Linked DNA regions of Homo sapiens: all the other regions are linked to region 1. Evidence: promoter capture Hi-C in human tissues and cell types (Jung and others, 2019). All regions are on one chromosome and are shown on one strand. The core of a region is centred on a gene start or on the middle of the fragment in contact, and the rest is flanking DNA. Distances in the headings are between cores, read along the strand shown.

Region 1 (3,617 bases), core at 469-2,968:
TTAAGGGTCATGTCCTTTTACCAAAAGAGTAAATGGAATTGCCCTTCACACTTTAGGGCCCAATTTCCAACAACTAACCTCATTCTGTCCTCCACTTTTAATCACCTCACATTCTCATTGCATTTTCAGAATCACTGCCATTCTACAAAAAGCATTTATCTACTCTACCCACCTGCCTCAGGCAAGATAACATTTTCTTTTTCTTTCTTTCTTTGAGACAGAGTCTCACTCTGTCACCCAGGCTGGAGTGCAGTGGTGCGATCTTGGCTCACTGCAACCTCCACCTCCCGGGTTCAAGTGATTCTCCTGCCTCAGCCTCCTGAGTAGCTGGGATTACAGGCTCGCGCCACCATGCCCAGCTAATTTTTGTATTTTTAGTAGAGATGGGGTTTCACCATGTTGGTCAGGCTGGTCTCGAACTCCTGACCTCGTGATCCACCCACCTCGACCTCCCAAAGTGCTGGGATTACAGGCATGAGCCACGGCGCCCGGCCAAGACACCACTTTCTTAAACCTTGAAAGAATGACTTTTTTTTTTTTAAATAGGTATGGAAGGAAAGTGTGATTTGAGACAACTCTAGGGTCTTAAATCCCAGAATTTATAATAGATATCTCCCTGAAGTTAAAACATAAGCCTTTTTGCTGCAATGGAAGCAAGCCACTTAAGGTCAGAAAGGTACTGCTTTACTTTTCCGCATTTCCAAGGTGAGGTCTTCCTCTAAAGGAAGATTAGCTCTTGGCAATCTGGGAGTTGGCTGAACTGGTCAGAAAGCAAAAGGATCACACAGTTTGAGGAAGAGGAGTGGTGGTAAAAATCCCTAATGTCACAGTCTCCTCTGTGTCTAGAGCACAATGTTCATGATACAAATGAGTTAGCTTTCTGGCAGAAAAGAAAGAAGGTGGGTGAGAAGCCAGGTCTTTGATCTGCATCTATATACATCATCAGGTTCATGTTTGAGTTTATATACCCCAGGCCCAGACACAGCTTCCCTGGTTCTAAATCTCCTGTAAAGAGCCCCAGGCTACTCCCTGTTCACAGGTTATAAACTGAGAGAAACAAAGGAAAAAACAGGGGACTCACAGGAGAAGCTGGAAAGAATTGCAGTAAGCTCTTTGAACTTTCCAGAGTCTAGAATGCTCTCCACTTAGAAAGGGAATCCCTTTCATTTTTTTCTAGCCATCCCCAGTGACTTAGGCTCTAATTTAGTCCCAGTATAAGAGAGAGAACACCAACACCAAGAACTGGAGAGGAGACATGATCTTGATTGCCTAGAAAAACTTTTATCCTTCATGTCCAAATTCAAGACAAAATATTAATCTATTCCTAGACCTAGGTTTCCCATCTTCTTCTTTACCACCAAGAGTCCCAAGTTTCACCTAAACTACAGTCATATTTTCACTATCTCCAGATAAGGAGTGCTCATCTAATTTTCTGTAAGTCACCAAAAAATGCAAAACGTCTTTGGAGAGGTAGGGAGAAGGAAGACTGAAACTGGTCATTGGAGATCCTTATAAGGGGGTAGGAAAAGAGAAGGAGAAATACATTAAGGACACTGTAATTATGGCCACATTCAGCTGTTTAATCAGTGATTAACACTGCCTGGGGTGATAAATACTTTACTCAATTATAAACTAAGCAAGCAGACAGGTTGACGGAAAAAAAAACTTACCCTGCTAAGTCCTCAGCTTCCTTCCTTCTCTCTTTCCTCCAAGTGAAATGAGTGCTTGATCTCTTCAGATCTAGGTTGTGGCTTACTTGCAGCTGTCCCTTCATATCACTTTCCTTTGCAAACTGCTGAAATGCTGAGTCTCAGTGATTAAGTGTGCCCTGCCAACCAGACAGACAAGGCTGAATTCTCCCTAATGAGGCAAAGAGGGATCTGTCCCCCTGCCTGAGGGCTTCTCTCTAACCTTTGTTCTCTGCCAAGGGGGCTCAGGACTGTCAACACTCCCAAGTGTTAGCCAAGTAAAGGCCAGGCAGGCTGACAAAAAATGAAACCTGCTGCTTCCTAGACTTCTCTCACTCAAGGCAATATTTCTGTTCTCAGTTTACAGCTTCAGAAGAAAACCCTTTGGATTAGTGCAGAAGTCAATATTTGATTGGAAAGGGTAAGCACCTTTCCAACCAAGTGGGAGGAACCAGAGGACCCTCTGGAGTTCTGTTTGTTGATCTAGACACAGGATGAGTTCCCCCAGGCCTGGTGTCCTTTTTCAGCATAACAAACATTGTTCAAACAAAACTCAACAATGTCCAATCTTGGATTAAGTAGAAGGGAGAAAATAAATGGCCATTTAATGGTACAGAATGAAATCAGTTGTAGGGGAAACATGCAGAATTAACTTGTAAAATTCACTTTCCCTGAAAGAAGGGTAAGATAACTCTCTGAGTGAGAGAGTCATCAGGAGCACTTTACCTGTATTAAGAGAGGAATAAATGCTTCTGGGATATTAAACAAAACCAAAATACTAGTTAATGACTAAAAATACATACTATTTCTAGGAAAAGAAAATAGAAAAGAATCAGCTCAACCATTCTCTTATCCTCCTTGTAATTGCAGCTGATCCAGGAAATTCAATTCCACAGTCCTAGCTTCTTTCTACTTACAGCTAGCCTATCTGAAGTTGTTAGGGCAGTGGTCCTAAAAGACTGCAAGATCTTTCTTACCCTCAAAAAATTTTTTTAAAATTTTTAAATAAAAAAGTTCTGACTTTCTGCTTATATCTGACCCCAGCTCTCACTTACCTGCTTCTTTGAACATCATCAAACTGGGGAACAGAATCACTCGCAATGAGGTCCCGGAATGTGGCAAATCAAATCCACACAGGAACCCCAAACTGTAAAAAGTACAAACTACATGCAGGGAAGGTGGAAGAAAAGTGTTAAGGATTCAACCAAACACTGCATAACATTATGTAGAATAGCTGTGGATAAAGGAAAATCAGTTGCAATAGGCAAAAACCCTAAATAAAATAGGGGTAATTCACTTTGTGCAAAAGTTTCAGGCCAACTTCAAATTTAACAGGCTTCAAAATTTATCTGAGAACCTCAAATGTTTTGAGTTCTGTTAATAATGGCTGAACTGCAGAAGATACAAGACATCAGAGATTGACTTTTCTAATTCAGAAGTTGTCAATGAATATAAAGGAGAATAGTAATATAGAAAAACTTTGATGTTGAATACTTATATTTTACTATCACTATGACTTGCTCTGGTAAACATTTAAAGTTACGAAGTCTGAACTTTTCACAATTTGTATTCATCATGAGTTGCATTTAAAAAATCTTAATAAATGGTATGCTGTGAAATGAATTATGAAGAAAGACTAGAAAGAGGTTCCTATTCAACATGTAGGAAGTGGTCTGTGAGGCACTATGTGATACTTTATCACTCTTCAGGTATTTTGCTTTTCCTGAGTTTGGTTCCTTTCTCTTATTTTCCTCTTAATTTTTACCATCAATCCATAGTTTTTTTGCTAATACTACTTAATGCTCACCCATGATTCCCACAAACACTATATAATGCTAGTTATGTACCTAAGGGCTAGGAAAGTTCCTGGCACCTAATATACTAGTTAAACTCTTACTTACTTTTTAATTTTTCTATTGGGTCTATTTT
Region 2 (3,617 bases), core at 611-3,110, 52 kb before region 1:
TGAGTCTCACTGGGCTGAGTACCTGAAATATCTGTTTTGAGGACTCAAACTGCTTCGTGGTGACACTGTGAGTTCCTCAGGACTTTCCCTTTCTCTTTAAAGGAAGTGCTACAACTATCAGGTATTCTGGCACAGTTATCAAGACAGGCCTACAGATGAAGGCCAAATAATCCCCAAACAGCCCTGTTTGATCACAGAACTACCATTCATAGGAAATTGTATGTAAAAACACAGGACTGTTTCTGGGGGCTTATCCAATAAAGAAAACAAACAACAAAAAACAAACCCCAAAGGATTAGATCAGCTACTGCCTAAGCAGATTCCACGTGGACTATATTATCAACATTTAATGGGAACAACTATTCAAAGCTCCCACTCATTTAAAAAGAAAATAAAGCAAAGCACAAAAATATCTTACAGATGGTCTTCAAACCACTTTCTACATATCCGGAAAACTCACGGCTCACACTGCTTAACAAGTCTCGATTAGCCATCTGCAAACAAAATTAAAGGGTTAAATATTTTTGTATCTTACAGCAGAAGCCAAATCTTCAAAAGAAAAGCTCATACCCTAGAATAAGCCTCCATGGTAGCTCTCAGCTGAGGAAAGCTTCTTGTGGCAAGGATCATGTTAAAGCAAGATTCATCGGTCCCTAGTCTCCCCTCACCAGCTTGATAGAGACGCTGAGCATCTTCCTGAGCCATTTGGTGGTTTATACTCTGGTTCTCATCACGATTTCCCTGCAAAAGAGAAAGGCAGGAATTGGAAGAAATAAATAATAGTTCTACTAAATTTTTTTTTTCCAATCTAGTTCACTTTTGGATTTAAAGAGACTATTTCTTTTTTTTTTGAGATAGGGTCTTGCTCTGTCACTCAGGCTGGAGTGCAGTATCAACCTCCTAGGCTCAAGTGATCCTTCCACCTCAGCCTCCCAGATAGCTGGGACTACAGGCACAAACGACCATGCCTGGTTAATTTTTTTATTTTTTGTAGAGACAGCATGTCTCACTATGTTGCCCAGGTGCTGGTCTCTAACTCCTGGGCTTAAGTGATCCTCCTGCCTTAGCCTCCTAAAGTGCTGGGATTATAGATGTAAGCCACTGGGCCTGGCCTAAAGAGATAATTTATTAAAGATTAATCCATAATGTCTGTCATGCATATGCTTCATTTCTATGCATGGAAATATAACTAGTAATTTATTATACTGTCAACTGGATTTTATAATATAAGATCACGGTTTAATGAGGTTATGTTAAAAATGAGGGCTTTTGGGAGCTAAATTAAACCCAAAATGTTTAAACAAAAATATCTCTACTAGGAGATATTAACTACCACTCAAATGAAGAAACAGCTCTCTTAGCTGGAATTTAAGATCAATATGCACTGTACTGAGTTCTACTTTTTATTCATTCATGCGACTAAGAGACATTAAGCACTTTCTTTGTGTCAGGCACTGTGTTAAGCGGTAGGGACACAGGAGAGACAGGGTCTCTGCCCTCAAGAAATTTAACTCTAGGGCAGGAGGGAGGGAGGATATAATATGGAGGCTTCATAAACTTTCTTTTCTTCATCTGAGTATAATATTTTTTTTTAAGAGACACGATTTCACTATGTTGCCCAGGCTGGGGTGCAATGGCTATTTGCAGACATGATCATAGCCTCAAACTCCTGGGTTCAAGTGATCCTCCTACCTCAGCCTCCAGAGTAGCTGGGACTATAAGCTCACACCACCACACTCAGCCATCGAATTATAATCTTAATATGTAAGTATTTACCATAAATACACGCATAAAAATGACACATAAGCTTTACAGAAGCAGCTACAAATAACTCATGTTCTGTTAGACTGTGCCTATTTGTATACCACACTCTTCCCTGGAATAGGAAGAAAGGAAGGAGGAAGGAAGAGTTTAAGCTTAATGAGCAGTTGGTTTCTCTCAAAAACAGAAAGACAAACCCAAACAAGAAAAGGCTGCCTTTTAGAGTCTCAGGGACCATCTTTGGAATAAGATGGAAAAATCCTCCTTGAAGCTGAAGAACTGTCTTCTGAGCAACTGGCACAAGGAATACGTAGAGGCACATTCTACATGGGCGACTGAATATAACACAGGAAAAGGTACTCACAAAAAATTTCCCAGATTATTGCCTTTGGATTCACACACACTTTCTCAGGAAGTTACTCCTCTACTCATGCCCTGGAAAAGGTAGGGCTGGGCCTTGAACTCTGCATAAAGAGAGACTCAGCACCTCATGTAAAATCTTAATAGCCATTTTTTAGCATTGTCTGTTTTCCTTCTTGTTTCTTTTAAATCCTAACCTACTGCCCTCCTGTTACTCTGATTTAGGTAAATTCAATTTCCTTCAACCCATTTACTTTGCTTTCTCATTTCCATATCCACTATCCTTTCCACAGCTACCTCCCTTTTTTTTTTTTTAGATGGAGTTTTGCTCTTGTTACCCAGGCTGGAGTGCAATGGCACAATCTCAGCTCACTGCAACCTCTGCCTCCCGGGTTCAAGCGATTCTGCTGCCTCAGCCTCCCAGGTAGCTGGGATTACAGGTGCCACCACTCCTGGCTAATTTTTTGTATTTAGTAGAGATGGAGTTTCACCATGTTGGTCAGGCTGGTCTCAAACTCCTGACCTCAGGTGATCCACCCGCCTCAGCCTCCCAAAGTACTGGGATTACAGACATGAACCACCACACCCAGCCCCTCCCTTGGCTCTTAAGAGCCCCTCCTCTCCTTTAGATCCCTCCAGATGGTCCAATCTTGTGCACTAGCACAATAGGCAATAACTCTTGATATTGAATCAGCATGCTAGTCATTTACATAATCTCTTTCAAATACACCTTCATCATCTAAGTGTGCTTCTTTTCTTTTTTTCTTTTCTTTTTTTTAAGGACAGGATCTCACTCTATTGCCCAGGCTGGAATGCAGTGGTGCGATCACAGTTCACTGCAGCCTCAATCTCCTGGGCTCAAGTGATCCTCCCACTGAACTTCCTGAATAGCTGGCACTACAGGCACATACCACCATGTTCGGCTAATTTTTAAAAATATTTTTTATAGAGATGGTTTCTTGCTATGGTACCCAAGCTGGCTTCAAACTCCTGGCCTCAAGCAATCCTCCTGCCTTGGCCTCCAAAAGTGCTGGAATTACAGGTGTGAGGCACAATGTCTGGCCCTAAGTGTGTTTCTAATGCCATTCCAAATACCCTATTTGGAGTATTTTCTGTCAATTCTCCAGCACACCTGGGGAATCAAAATAAAGAAGGTGCTAATCACAGTTATTACTGGGAACCCTAAAACATTTTTCTGCATTTCTGGGTCTCCTCACATAGTCCTCACTTCCTGTAGCACCTCTATGGCAGTCCTGCACATCTTCACTTGATGGTGGGGCATAATGGGCAGGATAGTGATAAGCTCAAATGTACAGTTTCATCCCCATCCCAGCCACAGAGCCTCGAATTGGTTTCTGATTCCATACAACCTTAGAGGTTAAATCTCTAATTCCTTACAAAAGCCAGATTTACAGGAATAAATCTCAATAGTAACTACAAAGAAATCTGTACACTGGTTTCTGTGTTGTCCCTCTTAAAGATGGCAATATTGCAAG
Region 3 (3,617 bases), core at 754-3,253, 45 kb after region 1:
GTTCAAGCAATCTGCCTGACTTGGCCAACCTGTGCTGCGATTACAGGTGTGAGCCACCACACCCAACAAAACTTTATTGTTAATAAATTAAGGTATATCTAAACATGTAACTATTCATATCCTTCATTTTATTCAAAAGGGAAAAAAGTAATAAAATCAGGGAAATAATCTGTTCTCGATGCTTATTTTGATTCTTTGTTATTTTCCTTTTATAACAACAAAATGTATTAAAGGAGTCAGCTACATCCAGGCGCAGTGGCTCACGCCTGTAATCCCAGCACTTCGGGAGGCCGAGGCAGGCAGATCACCTGAGGCCAGGAGTTCGAGATCAGCTTGACCAACATGGCGAAACTCCATCTCTATTAAAAATACAAAAACTAGCCGGGAGTGGTGGTGGGCACCTGTAATCCCAACTACTTGGGAGGCTGAGGCAGGAGAATCTCTTGAACCTGGGAGGCAGAGGTTGCAGTGAGCCGAGATCACGCCACTACACTCCAGCCTGGGCGACAGAGTGAGAGTCCATCTCAATTAAAAAAAAAAAAAAAAAGAGTCAGCTGCAAAACAATCTTACACAAGGACATGCACACCAACTTAGTTACCAAATAAGCTTCATAAAACTGTTTATTTTATTGTTTTGGTCAAATGCCTGAAATTTTTTTGTTAAAATGGGCCATTTTCTGATTTGCCTGAAGCCCTGTGACAATTTGGGAAAAGTTGACGAGGCTAATAATCAACTATCAGCAGGAGGAAGAAGAACTCAAAATAGCAAAATTCCTAAGGGAAGCAGGACAGACAGAGTCTAGAACTTCCTTCCACTCTGAGAATCCTAGCACACCTCAGAAAAAAAGGTATATTGGAAACACTGGAGAAGGAGATATAAACAACAGTAACCAACATAAATTCACCAGGTAAGGTTTCAGTATCTACTAGGGAAGGTGGTTAAAAGCATATGCTGGGAGTCACATTGCCTGGCTATGCTGTTTACTAATAATACCTTGGGCAAGTTACTTAACCTCTCTAAGCCTCAGGTTCCTCATCTATAAAATGAATAAAACAACAGTACTTACCTCATTAATATTATTGTGAGGATTAATCGATATGTCTTCAGTGCCTAGAACATGCTTAGAACATATTAAATGTGCAACACAGGTATCTATTGGTAGAAATTTGACCCCACAATTCTACCTCTAGGAATTTGTCCTACAAAAATAATCAGGCAAGTATGTAAAGATGTATGAATAATATGACTCATTAAAGCATCATTTGTAAAGAAAAAAACTGGGAACATCTTCAGTGTCTAACACAAGGAATTAATTAATTATGGTTTGTTTATTAGATGGAAAACAATGTAGATATTAAAATGATGCTACGAGTTTATATTTACTGACTTGGAAGGATATTTGGTGTAGGCATGTATGAAAAAGCAAGTTACAGACAATATTATAATATGATCCCCTTTTCATTAAAAAAAGAAAAAATGTATATATTGGAAAATACATATTGTTCTACATTTGCTGCATTTTGTTTATATAATTTAAAAAGATGGCAGGGCAATGTGGCTCACATCTGTAATCTCAACACTTTGGGAGTCCAAGGCAGGAGGATCACTTGAGCCCAGGAGTTCAAGACCAGCCTGGGCAACATAGGAAACTCCATTGCTACAAAAAAATTAAAAATTAGTCTAGGCATGGTGGTGTGTACCTGTGGTCCCAGCTATTTGAGAGACTGGGACAGAAGGATCCCTTAAGCTCAAGAGGTCAAGGCTACATTGAGCCATGCTGGTGCCACTGTACTCCAGCATGGGCCACAGAGTAAGACCCTGTCTCAAAAAAAAAGAAAAAGAAAAGAGAAAAAGGAAGAAAAGGAACCATCTACTGTTAAGTGATAATCAAAAGGTCATTTTAATGCCTCAAGTTTTTAAAAACAAATTAATACTTTCCAAATACACAAAGATTCCATAGGATATACTTGAGTCTTAATAGCTACACAAGGAGAAACAGAAGCACTAGGGCTCAAGCAATAAAAAAATCACAATATACTTTATTTAATCAGACAGAATTCAAGTAATCTTTTTTCACATGGTTTAATGCCTTTAGGGGCAAGAGAGATAAATAGCACTAAATTTTTAAGGCCACTAGTTAACAGGGCAATAAAGACCCCTCAGTCAGCTCATAAATTCCACTGGGAAAAAAATGGCAATTATAATTATATAAACAGAGTTATACAAAGAAATTTATTTGAATTGTTTGAAAGACAGAACAGGAATAAATAGTAGCTTTTCATAAAAACTTCAGAATATGCAGAGTTATTAAAAAAACCTAACACAGGTACTTGTGAAAACTAGGATTAAGTGAAAGCATCTGTGTTAACACTTAACAGCAAATCAAATGACAGTTTATGATTATTACCTCTATACTAAAATAACCTCTGTCCACATAATCGCCAAGAAAAAGGTATCGTGTATTAGCAGGTGATCCTCCTACTTCAAAAAGTTTCATCAGATCAAAAAATTGGCCATGGATGTCACCACACACTGAAACAAGAAGATTATTAGATAAGGGAAAAAAATCTCTAAAACAACAAATTTTACTTAAGTTAAAACGTATTTTACATAAGACATAGTACAAATGCTATCAAGAAATGTCTGAGAAGGAAGTAGTCTATGAACAGTCATGATTAGGATGATGTGTAACCAAGTGTTCATGTGCTCAAGATCTAGAAAAAGATGTAACAGAAATAACGAAATTTGTGGTCAGTGACAAACTGAAATCTACATTTATAAAGATCGTCTCTAGGACTCCAAGGATGTGTTTTAAGTTTCAAGATGACAAAATTACAATGGTGGCAGTTAAAATATCCATTCTAACTCAATACTTTCTGTTGCTCTCTAAATGGTCACTTTTGGTATCTGATATGACATCAAGGTATTTGACCCTAACAATTGAAAGCAAAGTAAGTATTGATCAAATTGAAGTATGGTCAACACAATTGATGAAACCTTCACAAAAGCATATTAGACTAACTTCTACACTCAGATTATTTAGAATCATGTCTATTCACTGAAAACAGGCAATCATTTTTAAGTATGGAAAATAATTTGAAATTCAAGATAATGTCCAAGTAATATTGATTTAGCATACAGTATCATTGAAAACAGTAAGTTGTAAATCCAGGCAACTAAATAATGACATAATAAAAATAATACCCAAAACATGAATAAGCTTACCTGTGATTGGAGCTTCTACTTCTATCATGGTTTTCTCTCTCCGAAGGATGGCAGCACCCTCATTGATAATTCTAAGCGCAATTTCTTCATCTACTCGACCTTCTTTCACCAAGTGGTTCTTCAGAACATCAACCCTGGGTATCCCATCCAAATCAAATACTTCTTCAGATGTCAAGCGATGTGTTGGGGGGAAAGGGACAGCTGCAAATGTTTTTAATTAATAAAAGATAAGTCACCAAAAATACATTAACTTAAAAACTAATAATTGGATCTAGATAAGACTAAAAACTGTAAAGCAGGGATTTTTCTTTCTTCTTCATTTATTGGGTAGAAGTGTTTTTCTAAATAGTAAGCAAATTATACCACTTTTAAAGCTATTTATACTAACATG

What was found. Contacts are between HindIII fragments. The study calls those that stand out against the background at their distance.
Region 2: a contact is called between a fragment that was not itself captured here and the fragment with the promoter of MSS51 in region 1, in 3 of the 25 tissues and cell types used here (adrenal gland, bladder and mesenchymal stem cells).
Region 3: a fragment that was not itself captured here is called in contact with the fragment with the promoter of MSS51 in region 1 in 3 of the 25 tissues and cell types used here (hippocampus, lymphoblastoid cells and mesenchymal stem cells).

The regions. Positions count from the first base shown.
Region 1 is chr10:73,431,843-73,435,459 of GRCh38, forward strand. MSS51 (MSS51 mitochondrial translational activator) reads right to left here and starts at 1,719. Exons shown (of 7, transcript NM_001024593.2): 1 at 1,671-1,719. The HindIII fragment of the contact is 24,221 bases long and covers 1-3,617 here.
Region 2 is chr10:73,379,461-73,383,077 of GRCh38, forward strand. ANXA7 (annexin A7) reads right to left here. Exons shown (of 13, transcript NM_001156.5): 10 at 571-741; 11 at 419-494. Among named protein-coding and RNA genes, the nearest start is that of CFAP70, 22 kb to the left of the region's middle. The HindIII fragment of the contact is 3,836 bases long and covers 1-3,617 here.
Region 3 is chr10:73,476,091-73,479,707 of GRCh38, forward strand. It overlaps PPP3CB (protein phosphatase 3 catalytic subunit beta), which reads right to left. Exons shown (of 14, transcript NM_021132.4): 2 at 3,227-3,427; 3 at 2,409-2,533. Among named protein-coding and RNA genes, the nearest start is that of PPP3CB-AS1, 18 kb to the right of the region's middle. RefSeq lists a silencer at 2,567-2,767. The HindIII fragment of the contact is 4,697 bases long and covers 1-3,617 here.